Regions from separate parts of the Homo sapiens genome. Here all the other regions are linked to region 1. The links are contacts of gene promoters, found by promoter capture Hi-C in human tissues and cell types (Jung and others, 2019). All regions are on one chromosome and are shown on one strand. The core of a region is centred on a gene start or on the middle of the fragment in contact, and the rest is flanking DNA. Distances in the headings are between cores, read along the strand shown.

Region 1 (3,721 bases), core at 606-3,105:
TGAAACCCCATCTCTACTAAAAATACAAAAATTAGCCAGGTGTGGTGGCACATGCCTGTAGTCCCAGCTACAGAGGAGACTGAGGCAGCAGAATCGCTTGAACCCAGGAGGCCAAGGTTGCAGTGAGCTGAGATTGTACCACTGCACTCCAGCCTGGACAGAGAGGGTGACAGAGAGGGACTTCATCTCAAAAAAAAAAAAAAAAAAGAATTGAACTTTGGATTTGGCACCATGGAAGTCACTGATGACCTTGACAAGCTGTTGGATTTGTTTTTCATCACTGCACGTTATGCTCTAGGTACCGTGGCCGATATAGTCTAGGTGCTATCACCACCAATCTCATGTTGAATTGCAATTTCCAACATTGGAGGTGGAGCCTGGTGGGAGGTGATTGGATCATGGGGTGGATCCTTCATGAATGGGTGAGCACCATCCCCTTGGTAGTGAGTGAGTTCTCAAGAGATCTGGTCATTTAAAAGTGTGTGGCAGCCGGGCATGGTGGCTCACACCTGTAATCCCAGCACTTTGGGAGGCCGAGGCGGGTGAATCACGAGGTCAGGAGATCGAGACCATCCTGGCTAACATGGTGAAACCCCGTCTCTACTAAAAATACAAAAAATTAGCCAGGCGCGGTGGCAGGCGCCTGTAGTCCCAGCTACTCGGGAGGCTGAGGCAGGAGAATGGCGTGAACCCGGGAGGTGGAGCTTGCAGTGAGCTGAGATCGCACCACTGCACTCCAGCTTGGGTGACAGAGCGAGACTCCGTCTCAGAAAAAAAAAAAAAAAAAAAGACGGTCTCGCTCTGTTGCCCAGGCTGGAATGCAGTGGTGCGATCTCGGCTCACTGCAACCTCTGCCTCCTGAGTTCAAGCGATTCTCCTGTCTCAGCCTCCCGAGTAGCTGGGATTACAGACCCCCACCACCACGCCCGACTAATTTTTGTATTTTTAGTGGAGACAGGGTTTCATTATGTTGGCCAGGCTGGTCTCGAACTCCTGACCTCAAGTGATCCACTCACCTCAGCCTCCCAAAGTGCTGGAGTTACAGGCGTGAGCCACGGCGCCCGGACTTAAGAGCCATTCTTATTTCCTTTTCTATGAACTATTTGTTCACATTCTCTGTGTATTTTTTCCCCTGATGAGATTGTTCCTTTTCTTATTCATTTGTGGGAAATCTATTAAAATTAGCCCTTTGCATGTGATGCAATTTGGAAGTATTTTTCCAGGTTTGTCATGTTAATTCTGGATTGATCAAATATAGACATCATTATGAACGATGAGCATTCAGCTCTCACCCCAACACTCTTTTTATTCCCCATCCCTGTGATTTCTGTTATTAGAACTCACTCTACCACGTTTAATCCTCTTTCAAACACAAGCTTCTGACTGTCAGTCTTCTCGGATAAAATCATGATGATCTAATCATATCTCAGACATTGCTGCAAAAGAGGTAAGAGATCTATGTTTGAAAGTCTGGCAAGTACCATTTTAGTTTTTTCAATGTTTTTGACTACAGTTCAAAATAAGACATGTACTTATATCACAACCTAGCACACATGCATATATGTATATCTATTACATAATTAAAGTTTACAAAACTTGGCCAGTTGCGGTGGCTCACGCCTGTAATCCCAGGACTTTGGGAGGCCAAGGCAGGTGGATCACTTGAGGTCAGGGGTTCAAGACCTGCCTGGCCAACATGGTGAAACCCCGTCTCTACTAAAAGTACAAAAAAATTTAGCCGGGCATGGTGGCACGCATCTGTAATCCCAGCTACTCGGGAGGGTGAGGTGGGAGAATTGCTTGAACCCAGGAGGCGGAGGTTGCAGTGAGCTGAGATCATGCCACTGCACTCCAGCCTGGGTGACAGAGTGAGACTCTGTCTCAAAAAAAAAAAAGTTTTATATAACTTGTGCAAGACTCACAATGTGGGCAGTGCCAGCCTCTAATCTCTTCTGTTTTTGCTTTTGTTTTTAAATGCTGGTCTAAATCCACTTAATTGATTTCAAGGCCTTAGCAGATCTCTATCTGCTTTCTAGAACAAGTCTATGTTTTTTGTTAATTTTGAGACAGGGTCTTGCTCTGTTGCCCAGGCTGGAGTGCAGTGGCAAGATCTTGGCTCACTGCAACCTCTGCTTCCCGAGTTCAAGCGCTTCTTGTGTCTTAGCTTCCCAGACAGCTGGGATTACAGGCACCCGCCACCACGCCTGGCTAATTTTGTATTTTTAGTACAGGTGGGGTTTCTCCATGTTGGCCAGGCTGGTCTGGTCTTGAACTCCTGACCTCAGGTGATCCACCCACCTTGCCCTCCCAAAGTGCTGGGATTACAGGCCTGAGCCACCATGCTTGGCCAAATCTATACTTTTAAAGTTTCTATGCAGATATTTTAAAATTTGTTTTATTCCACTCGAGTGAGGTATAATTTACATTATAATTACGGTAAAACGCGCCCACTTTAAGTGTGCAGTTGGATGAGTTTTGACAATTGTACACCACCTCAATCAAGGCAGAGAACATTTCTCTCCAGAACATTCCTTTGTGCCCTTTTGCAGTCAATCCTCTTACCGCCCGCCCCCCACCCCCAGGGGTAACGGCTGTTTTGATTTTTAGCATAGATTAGTGTTATAATAAATATTTTATATGCTCCCTTTACCACCCTGAAATAAAGTTTATGGATAATATAACCCACCCACATACAAAATAAAATTTTTAATCAAGATAATGTCCTTATTATAATGAAGAAAGAATAAGCGGAAAGTAATTTATAGTAAAATGTTCAAAAAGCTCAGACTTAACTAAGCTATAAAACATAATAAAGGGTTAGGGGTGTGCCAGGGGCAGAAGCTTTGTGAATGCCAGCTGGAGAGCCACAAATAAAGACAGACACAGCTTTGTGACTCTGGCACCAAATGGTGAACAATGAACACACATTCCTGGTTCTACCCAGTAGTTGCATTCCTGAAAAATTTAAAACTGTTTACGGGCCCGGTGCGGTGGCTCATGCCTGTAATCACAACAGTTTGGGAGGCTGAGTTGGGAGGATCGCTTGAGCCCAGGAGTTTGAGATTACAGTGAGCCATGATCACACCACTGCACTCCAGCCTGGGTGATGGAGCGAGACCCTGTCTCTAACAACGACGACAACAAACCTGGTTATGAGTATAATGGAGTTCCATGTTGGGCTTAGGTAATTTTGTTTTTTTGTTTTGAGACAGGGTCTCGCCCTGTCACCCAGGCTGGAGTGCAGTGGCATGATCATGGCTCACTGTAATCTCAAACTCCTGGGCTCAAGTGATCCTCCCACCGTGGCCTCCCAAAGTGCTGGGATTACAGTCATGAGTCACTGCGTCCGCCCCAGGGCATATTTATTTATTTATTTATTCTTTCTTTCTTTTCTTTTCTTTTTTTTTGACAGAGTCTCACTCTGTTGCCCAGGCTGGAGTACAGTGGCTCGATCTCAGCTCACTGCAACCTCAATCTCCCTGGATCAAGAGATTCTCCTGCCTCAGCCTCCCAAAATGCTGGGATTACACATGTGAGCCACCACGCCTGGCCTGGGCACATTTCTTCCTTTTTTTTTTTGAAACAGAGTCACTCTGCCACCCAGGCTGGAGTGCAGTGGTGCGATCTCGGCTCACTGCAACCTCCACCTCCTGGGTTCAAGTGATTCTCCTGCCTCAGCCTTCCAAGTAGCTGGGAGTGCAGGCGCCCGCTACCATGCCTG
Region 2 (3,721 bases), core at 1,222-3,721, 250 kb after region 1:
GCCCTTCTTGGATAGAGGAGAGGTGGGAGGGGCTGGGATGCACCTAGGGGCTCCAGAGACTGCAGTCCTGAAGGCTGGGGCTAGAGGTTGGATGCATGGGAATGGGTGGCATGGAGGTGATGGCCATTCAGACTGGCAGCGGGCAGGCGAGGGGCACAAGGAATTCCGGGGCGGAGGGAGTGAGCAAAAGTCGCTGGGGTCCCTCTGGGTTGCAAGGCTTCCTGGTCTCCCTGCCTGCCCTGGGGTTGAGGGTGGCGTTCGTGCCCTGCCTGGCACCTCTCACTGCACAGCACATGGGATCTGATGCTGGCGTCTCACACCTGTAATCCCAGCACTTTTGGAGGCTGACGCAGGTGGATTGCCTGAGCTCAGGAGTTTGCAACCAGCCTAGTCAACATGTTGAAACCCAGTCTCTACTAAAAATACAAAAATTAGCTAGGTGTGGTGGCAGGTGCCTCTAGTCCCAGCTACTCGGGAGGCTGAGGCAGGAGAATCCTTGAACCCAGGAGGTGAGTTTGCAGTGAGCTGAGATCATGCTGCTGCAGTCCAGCCTGGGTGACAGAGTGAGACTCTGTCTCAAAAAAAGAAAAAACAAAACAAAAAAGGACTTTGGGGTTTCTGGCCGGGTGCAGTGGCTCATGCCTGTAATTCCAGCACTTTGGGAGGTTGAGGCAGGTGGATCACTTGAGGTCAGGAGTTTGAGACCAGCCTGGCCAACATGGCAAAACCTGGTCTCTACTAAAAATACAAAAATTAGCCAGGCGTGGAGTAAGCCTGTAATCCCAGCTATTCAGAAGGCTGAGGCAGGAGAATCCCTTGAACCTGGGAGGTGGAGGTTGCAGTGAGCTGAGATGGTGCCACTGCACTGCAGCCTGGGTGATAGAGCAAGACTCTGTCTCAAAAATGAGCAAACAAAACTTTGGGATTTTTTATCCATATATCATCCCAATCTTCCGGATTTATGTTTGGAATGACTGCAAGAGACCAAGCATTAAGTTAATGACTTCTATATGCTATGTCCTGTTCTGAGCATTTATTATCTTAATGATCAAGGACTCTATGAAGTTGATACTATTATGATTATTATTATTATGACTATTATTGTTGCTATTTTTAGAGACGGACTCTTAGTCTGTCACCCAGGCTGGAGTGCAGTGGCATGATCATAGCTCACTGTAACCTTAACTCCTGGGTTCAAGCGATCCTCCTGCCTCAGCCTCTGAGTAGCTAGGAATACAGATGTGTGCTACCATGCCCAGCTAATTTTTATTTTATTTTTGTAGAGATGGGGGTCTCACTATGTTGCCCAGGCTGGTCTTGAACTCCTGGGCTCAAGCAGTCCTCCTGCTTCAGCTTCCCAAATTGCTGGGATTGTAGGCACAAGCCACCACACCCAGCCTAAGGTTGATACTACTCTTTTCTTTATTTATTTATTTTTCTGAGTGGCAGTTGGACCCACAGCTAGAACTTATTTGGCAGATTAATAACATACAGGCATTACTGGATCACAAATTCATTTTTAAAATATTTTGATAGCTATTCAATACTTGTTTCCTCTCTTATGAATTCCTTTTTTTTTTTTTTTTTTTTTGAAACAGAGTCTCCATCTGTCATCCAAGCTGGAGTGCAGTGGCGTGACCTTGGCTCACTGCACTCTCCTCCACTCAGGTTCAAGTGATTCTCCTGCCTCAGCCTCCAAGTAGATGGGATTATAGGCACCCACCACCATGCCTGGCTAATTTTTGTATTTTTAGTAGAGACTGGGATTTTGCCAGGCTGGTCTCGAACTCCTGCCCTCAGGTGATCCATCCACCTCGGCCAGTCAAAGTGCTGGGATTACAGGCATGAGCCACTGCACCCAGCCGATACTACTATATCCCCATTTTACAGATGAGCACATGGGCAAATTGAGGGTAAGGCACTGACCCATGATCATACAGCTGAGAAGTGGCAAAGGCAGGATTTGAACCTAGAACCTCTGGCTCCACACACTAGTAATCTAAACCACTCTCCCTACAATACAACATACGTGGTAAAGATGTGTGGTGGGCACGCAATCAACGTAGGTCCCTTCACAGTTGCTGGGAGAGGCAGGAATTTGCAGTTCCTCCGCGTTCTCCTCCTCCGCTGCCCACCTGTCCTGGGTCATTCCTGCAGCCTGCCCTGCCCTGCCTGGTCTCACCCTCCCTCTGCCAACAGAAGTCTGGGCAGGGTTTTATGGGCTCTGATAAGGCCCTGGCAGGGCCGAAGTTCATGAGCACTTCCTCTTTGCAGGAGGGCGTAGGGGAGGGGACCCAGGTGATTTGGGTCCTGGCTGGTCACCAGGGAAGCTGGCAAGGGAAGGGAGACTAGGGTGCGCTCTAGGAGAAGCCGACAGCCTGAGAGTCCCAGAAGAGGAGCCCTGTGGACCCTCCCCTGCCAGCCACTCCCTTACCCTGGGTATAAGAGCCACCACCGCCTGCCATCCGCCACCATCTCCCACTCCTGCAGCTCTTCTCACAGGACCAGCCACTAGCGCAGCCTCGAGCGATGGCCTATGTCCCCGCACCGGGCTACCAGCCCACCTACAACCCGGTGAGATGCCAGCTCAGGCCCCACTCCGCCCGCAGCTCCGTCCATAAGCCCTCACACCAATTTTCCCCACTCTGATCCTGGGGGGCCCCATCTGACTCTGTGGTCTGATTTACCCAAAGCTGACCCCGACCCTCGATTTACTCCTACCCTGACCTCAGGCTGTCTGTGTCCACGTCTAACTGTTGGCCCTCGTCATCTTCAACCTGGTCCTCCCCCATGGTTTCCTCTCTCCTGCTTAAGGGACTGGGGGGCTTTTCTGGGAGGGGTAAAGGCTGCAACAGGCAGATGGCTTGTGAGTCCCCTCACCAGGCCTCTTCTCCAGACGCTGCCTTACTACCAGCCCATCCCGGGCGGGCTCAACGTGGGAATGTCTGTTTACATCCAAGGAGTGGCCAGCGAGCACATGAAGCGGTAAGACCCTCCCCAAGCCAGGCCGGGCTGGCAGGGGACTTCCAACTGGGTGCTCTGGGCCTGGCTGTTGGGGGCTTTCTGCCCTTACCCCACCCTGGTGGAGAGGGGACTCTTTTTCTGCCCCACCCAATAGCCAGAGATGAATCTGGGGCAGATCAGGAGTGGGGACGTGGGGGCCAGAAGGTTCAGGGAGGGCTCACCGTGAGAGGCAGTCCCTGAGTTGGACATTAGACTGAAGCTGATGGGTGCAATGGCAGGAATTCAGATCACAGGCTCAGAGCCGGGTCCCCGAGTTAAAATCCCAGCTCTGCCACTCCCCAGCTCTGTGTTGGTGAAAGAGTGAAAGTGACTATACCTCTCTGTGCTTCATTTTCTTTTCTTTTCTGTTTTTGTTTTTTTTGTTTTTTTTTTTGTTTTGAGATGGAGTTTTGCTCTTGTCGCCCAGGCTGGAGTGCAATGGCATGATCTTGGCTCACTGCAACCTCTGTCTCCCAGGTTCAAGCGATTCTCCTGCCTCAGCCTCTTGAGTAGCTGGGATTACAGGCATGTGCCAGCACACTGGCTAATTTTTGTATTTTTAGTAGAGATGGGGTTTCACCATGTTGGTCAGGCTGGTCTCGAACTCCTGACCTCAAGTGATCCTCCCATCTCGGCCTCCCAAAGTGCTGGGATTACAGGCGTGAGCCACTGCGCCTGGCCCAGTCTTAGCTTTTTAAAAAGGGCCTTAACACGTTGA
Region 3 (3,721 bases), core at 424-2,923, 230 kb before region 1:
TGCAGGGTGTGAAGGGGCTGGTCTAGGACGTCCTCCAGGGCTGGGCCAGCAGCGGCCTCCAGGACCTTCAGCGTCAGGGCCAGCTCAGCCTCCAAGGCCACAGGGCGCTCCCTCACCTGAGGAGAGGTGAGAAAGAGCAGGTGAGGGAGAACAGGCAAGAAGACCCAGTTAGTGGGGACAGGTAGGCAGTCCTGGGGAAGGTCGGTGACACAGTGCATGTGGTGGGGACAGGTGAGGGGTCTGGGGAGAAGGAGACAGGAGGGGGAAGACATGAGGAAGGATACAGGTGAGGCAGGATGGTCAAGGAGGCAGGTGAGGGGATAAGTGAAATGGAGACAAATGAAAGGGGACTTACGGGGGTCACAGAAGTTCTCTGGGGCGGGGTGGGGACGGGTGAGGAGAAAGCAGGTTGGGGGCACAGTAAGAGAGGGACAGTTGCATGCACAGAGAAGAAGGGTAGGGCTGGGTGTGGTGGCTCACGCCTGTAATCCCAGCACTTTGGGAGGCCGAGGCGGGTGGATCACCTGAGGTCAGGATTTCGAGACCAAGCCTGGCCAACATAGTGAAACCCCGTCTCTGCTAAAAATACAAAAATTAGCTGGGCATCATGGCACATGCCTGTAATCCCAGCTACTCGGGAGGCTGAGGCAGGATAATTGCTTGAACCCGGGAGGCAGAGGTTGCAGTGAACCGAGATCATGCCACTGCACTCCAGCCTGGGCCATAGAGCAAGACTCTGTCTCAAAAAAAAAAAAAAAAAAAAAAAAAAGAGAAGGGTGGATGAGGGGGGAGCATGAGCTGGATGAATGTCAGTGAGAGATAATGAGGGACAGGTGACAGAGGCAGGTGAGAGGGAGAGGGGGTCAGTGTTGGGAACAGACAGGGAGAAGTGGAGCAGGACGAAAGGCACAGGTGGGCGACAGACTGGAGACATTTGGGAGAGAAATGAAGAGTGAGAGTGGAAGTGACAGGGACAGGTGAGCGAGCTAGGGAAGTGGGGCCGATGGGAGATGATAAAAGGGACCCAGGGGAAGGACAGAGTCAAGAGAGCAGTTTTGAAGTGGCAGGGGCACAGGACAGGTGAGGAGAGGTCCAAGAGAGTGAAGGACAAGGGAAACAAAGAAGGCTAAGGGGCCACTTAAGAAGAGGGGGGAGAGGGTCAAGGGAAGGGTGAAGGGGGCCTGACTTTCAGCTCACCTGGAGAAGCCTCAGGTCCCAATTCCCGGGGAAGACAGGAGAGCTGCAACTCCAGTTTTTCAGCTTGAGTGACTCTTCCTAGAGAGCAAGGGCAGGGGTTAGCCCACAGCAGGATGGCTGGAAGCTAGCTCATAGCAGCAAGGATGAAGTTGGCCTGACAGCATGGGTTTAACCCAGTGCAGAAAGGATAGAGGTTTGCCATAGTTGGAAGGCTAGAGGCTAGCCCACAGTAGAAGGGCAGTAATTGGGACACCCGTAGAAGTGGTTCATCCACAGCAACAGGAACTCACCAAGGCGTCCCTGGCCTTCTTGAAGCTCGCTAGCTCCTGTGGTGACAGAGATTTGAACCTGCCAATGTGGCAGCCCTTCCCAGTTGTGGTGGGCTTGGAAGTGGGGACAGGGCCTGCCACGGCCAAGCCTAGCACCAAAGTCACCAGCACCACGGTCCAAGCTGCAGCCATGGCTAAATCGCAACTGCTTCCCCAGCGGCATGGCTCTGCTTTTTAGCCACGCAAAATGGGCAATCCAAGATGATGTGTGTAAAGTGAAAAGGTAATTGGAAATGAGAATTTCCACTTTGACTTAAGAGGCATGAGTGGGCGGGGCCCGTCTGGGAGCCTGATGAGGGAACAGGTGTGGGCAGGGCCAAGTGAGCTGGGAGCTGCATCAAGAAGGAAAGAGAAACTGAAATCCTTAGAACTCCCTGGGCAGCTTTCAGCCAACTGGCCTCAGGGAGTCCCTGACGGAGGCTGAGATTAGGGATAAGGCTACCTGAGTGGCAGAGAGGAAGCTTCTTTTTTATTCTAAATTAGCCAGGTGTGGTGGCATGCGCCTGTGGTCTCAGCTACTCAGGAGGCCGAGGCATGAGAATCACTTGAACCCGGGAGGCGGAGGTTGCAGTGAGCCAAGATCGTGCCACTGCACTCCAGCCTGGGTGATGGAGTGAGATCCTGTTTCAAAAAAAAAAAAGCTTGTTTTTTATTTTATTGTTATTATTATTTTTTGAGACGTAGTTTTGCTCTTGTTGCCCAGGCTGGAGTGCAATGGTGCAATCTTGGCTCACTGCAACTTCTGCCTCCCGAGTTGAAGCGATTCTCCTGCCTCAGCCTCCTAAGTAGTTGGGATTACAGGTGCATGCCATCACGCCTGGCTAGTTTTTGTATTTTTAGTAGAGACTGGGTTTTACTATGTTGGTCACGCTGGCTTCGAACTCCTGACTTCAGATGATCTGCCTGCCTTGGCCTCCCAAAGTGCTGGGATTACAGGCGTGAGCCACCACCTTACTTTATTATTTATTTATTTATTTTTGTAGAGATAGGGGTCTCACTATGTTGCCCAGGCCAGTCTTGAACTCCTGGCCTTAAGCCATCCTCCTGCTTCAGCCTCGCAAAGTGCTAGTATTAAAGGCATGAGCCACTGCTCCTGGCCAAGAAGGAGCTTCTGCCATTGGTTTAAGAATGTCCCATTAACTAATTTCAGTTCATGCTCCTAATGTTTCTCTGAGTAGTTATTTTTATAATTGTGATGGTTAATTTTAGGTGTCACCTTGACTGGTTAAGTTTATCAGATAGCTGGTGATGCGTTAATTCTGGGTATGACTCTGGGGTGTTTCCAGAAGAGATTGGCATTTGAATCAATGGACTGAGTAAGGAAGACCCGTTGTTACCCAATGTGGTGGGCACCATCCAATTGGCCGAGGGCCTGAATAGAACAAAAAGGCAGAGGAAAGGAGAATTTGCTCTCTCTTATGAGCTGGGACACCCTGCACCTGCCCTTAAACATCAGAACTCCAGGCTCTTTGGTCTTTGAATGCTGGGATGTGCAGCTGGGCATGGTGGCTCACGCCTGTAATCCCAGCAGTTTGGGAGGCTGAGGCAGGTGAATCACTTGAGGTCAGGAGTTCGAGACCAGCCTGGCCAACATGGTGAAACCCCATCTCTACTAAAAATATAAAAATCAGCCAGGCGTGGTGGCACAGGCCTGTAGTCCCAGCTACTTGGGAGGCTGAGGCAGGAGTATCGCTTGAACCCTGGAGGCGGAGGCTGCAGTGAGCTGAGATCATGTCACTGCACTCCAGCCTGGTCAACAGAGTGAGACTCCATCTCAGAAAAAAAAAAAATGCTGGGACTTGCACTAGCTACCCCCTAAGTCCTGAGGCTTTTATTCTGGAACTGAGCTGCACTACAAGCTTCCCTGGTTCTCCAGCTTGCAGATGGCCTGTTGTGGAACTTCTTAGCCTCCCTAATTGTCTGAGCCAATTCCCCTAATAAATCCCCTCCTATCTCTCTCTCATCTATCTAGTCTCTCTCTCTCTCTCTCTCTCTCTCTCTCTCTATCTAGTCTATCTCTCTCATCTATCTAGTCTATATCTCTCTATCTATCATCTATTTATCCAAACATCCTATTTGTTCTGTCTCTCTGGAGAACCCTGACTAATACAATAATCATGCCCATTTTACTAGTGAGATAACTGAGGCATAGGAAGGCAAAGTGACTTGCCTAAGGTCCCACAGTGGGATAGAGG

Evidence for each region. The method cuts DNA at HindIII sites, captures the fragments that hold promoters and counts their contacts. A contact is called where the count stands out against the background at its distance.
Region 2: a contact is called between the fragment with the promoter of LGALS4 here and a fragment that was not itself captured in region 1, in 1 of the 25 tissues and cell types used here (thymus).
Region 3: a contact is called between the fragment with the promoter of IFNL1 here and a fragment that was not itself captured in region 1, in 9 of the 25 tissues and cell types used here (H1 embryonic stem cells, adrenal gland, dorsolateral prefrontal cortex and 6 more).

Annotation. Positions count from the first base shown.
Region 1 is chr19:39,063,814-39,067,534 of GRCh38, reverse strand. No RefSeq gene overlaps it. Among named protein-coding and RNA genes, the nearest start is that of ACP7, 19 kb to the left of the region's middle. The HindIII fragment of the contact is 4,534 bases long and covers 1-3,721 here.
Region 2 is chr19:38,811,695-38,815,415 of GRCh38, reverse strand. It overlaps LGALS4 (galectin 4), which reads left to right and starts at 2,471. Exons shown (of 10, transcript NM_006149.4): 1 at 2,471-2,574; 2 at 2,897-2,985. The coding sequence starts at 2,530. The HindIII fragment of the contact is 29,723 bases long and covers 1-3,721 here.
Region 3 is chr19:39,294,359-39,298,079 of GRCh38, reverse strand. It overlaps IFNL1 (interferon lambda 1), which reads right to left and starts at 1,673. Exons shown (of 5, transcript NM_172140.2): 1 at 1,488-1,673; 2 at 1,198-1,275; 3 at 1-116. The coding sequence starts at 1,658. The HindIII fragment of the contact is 11,779 bases long and covers 1-2,776 here.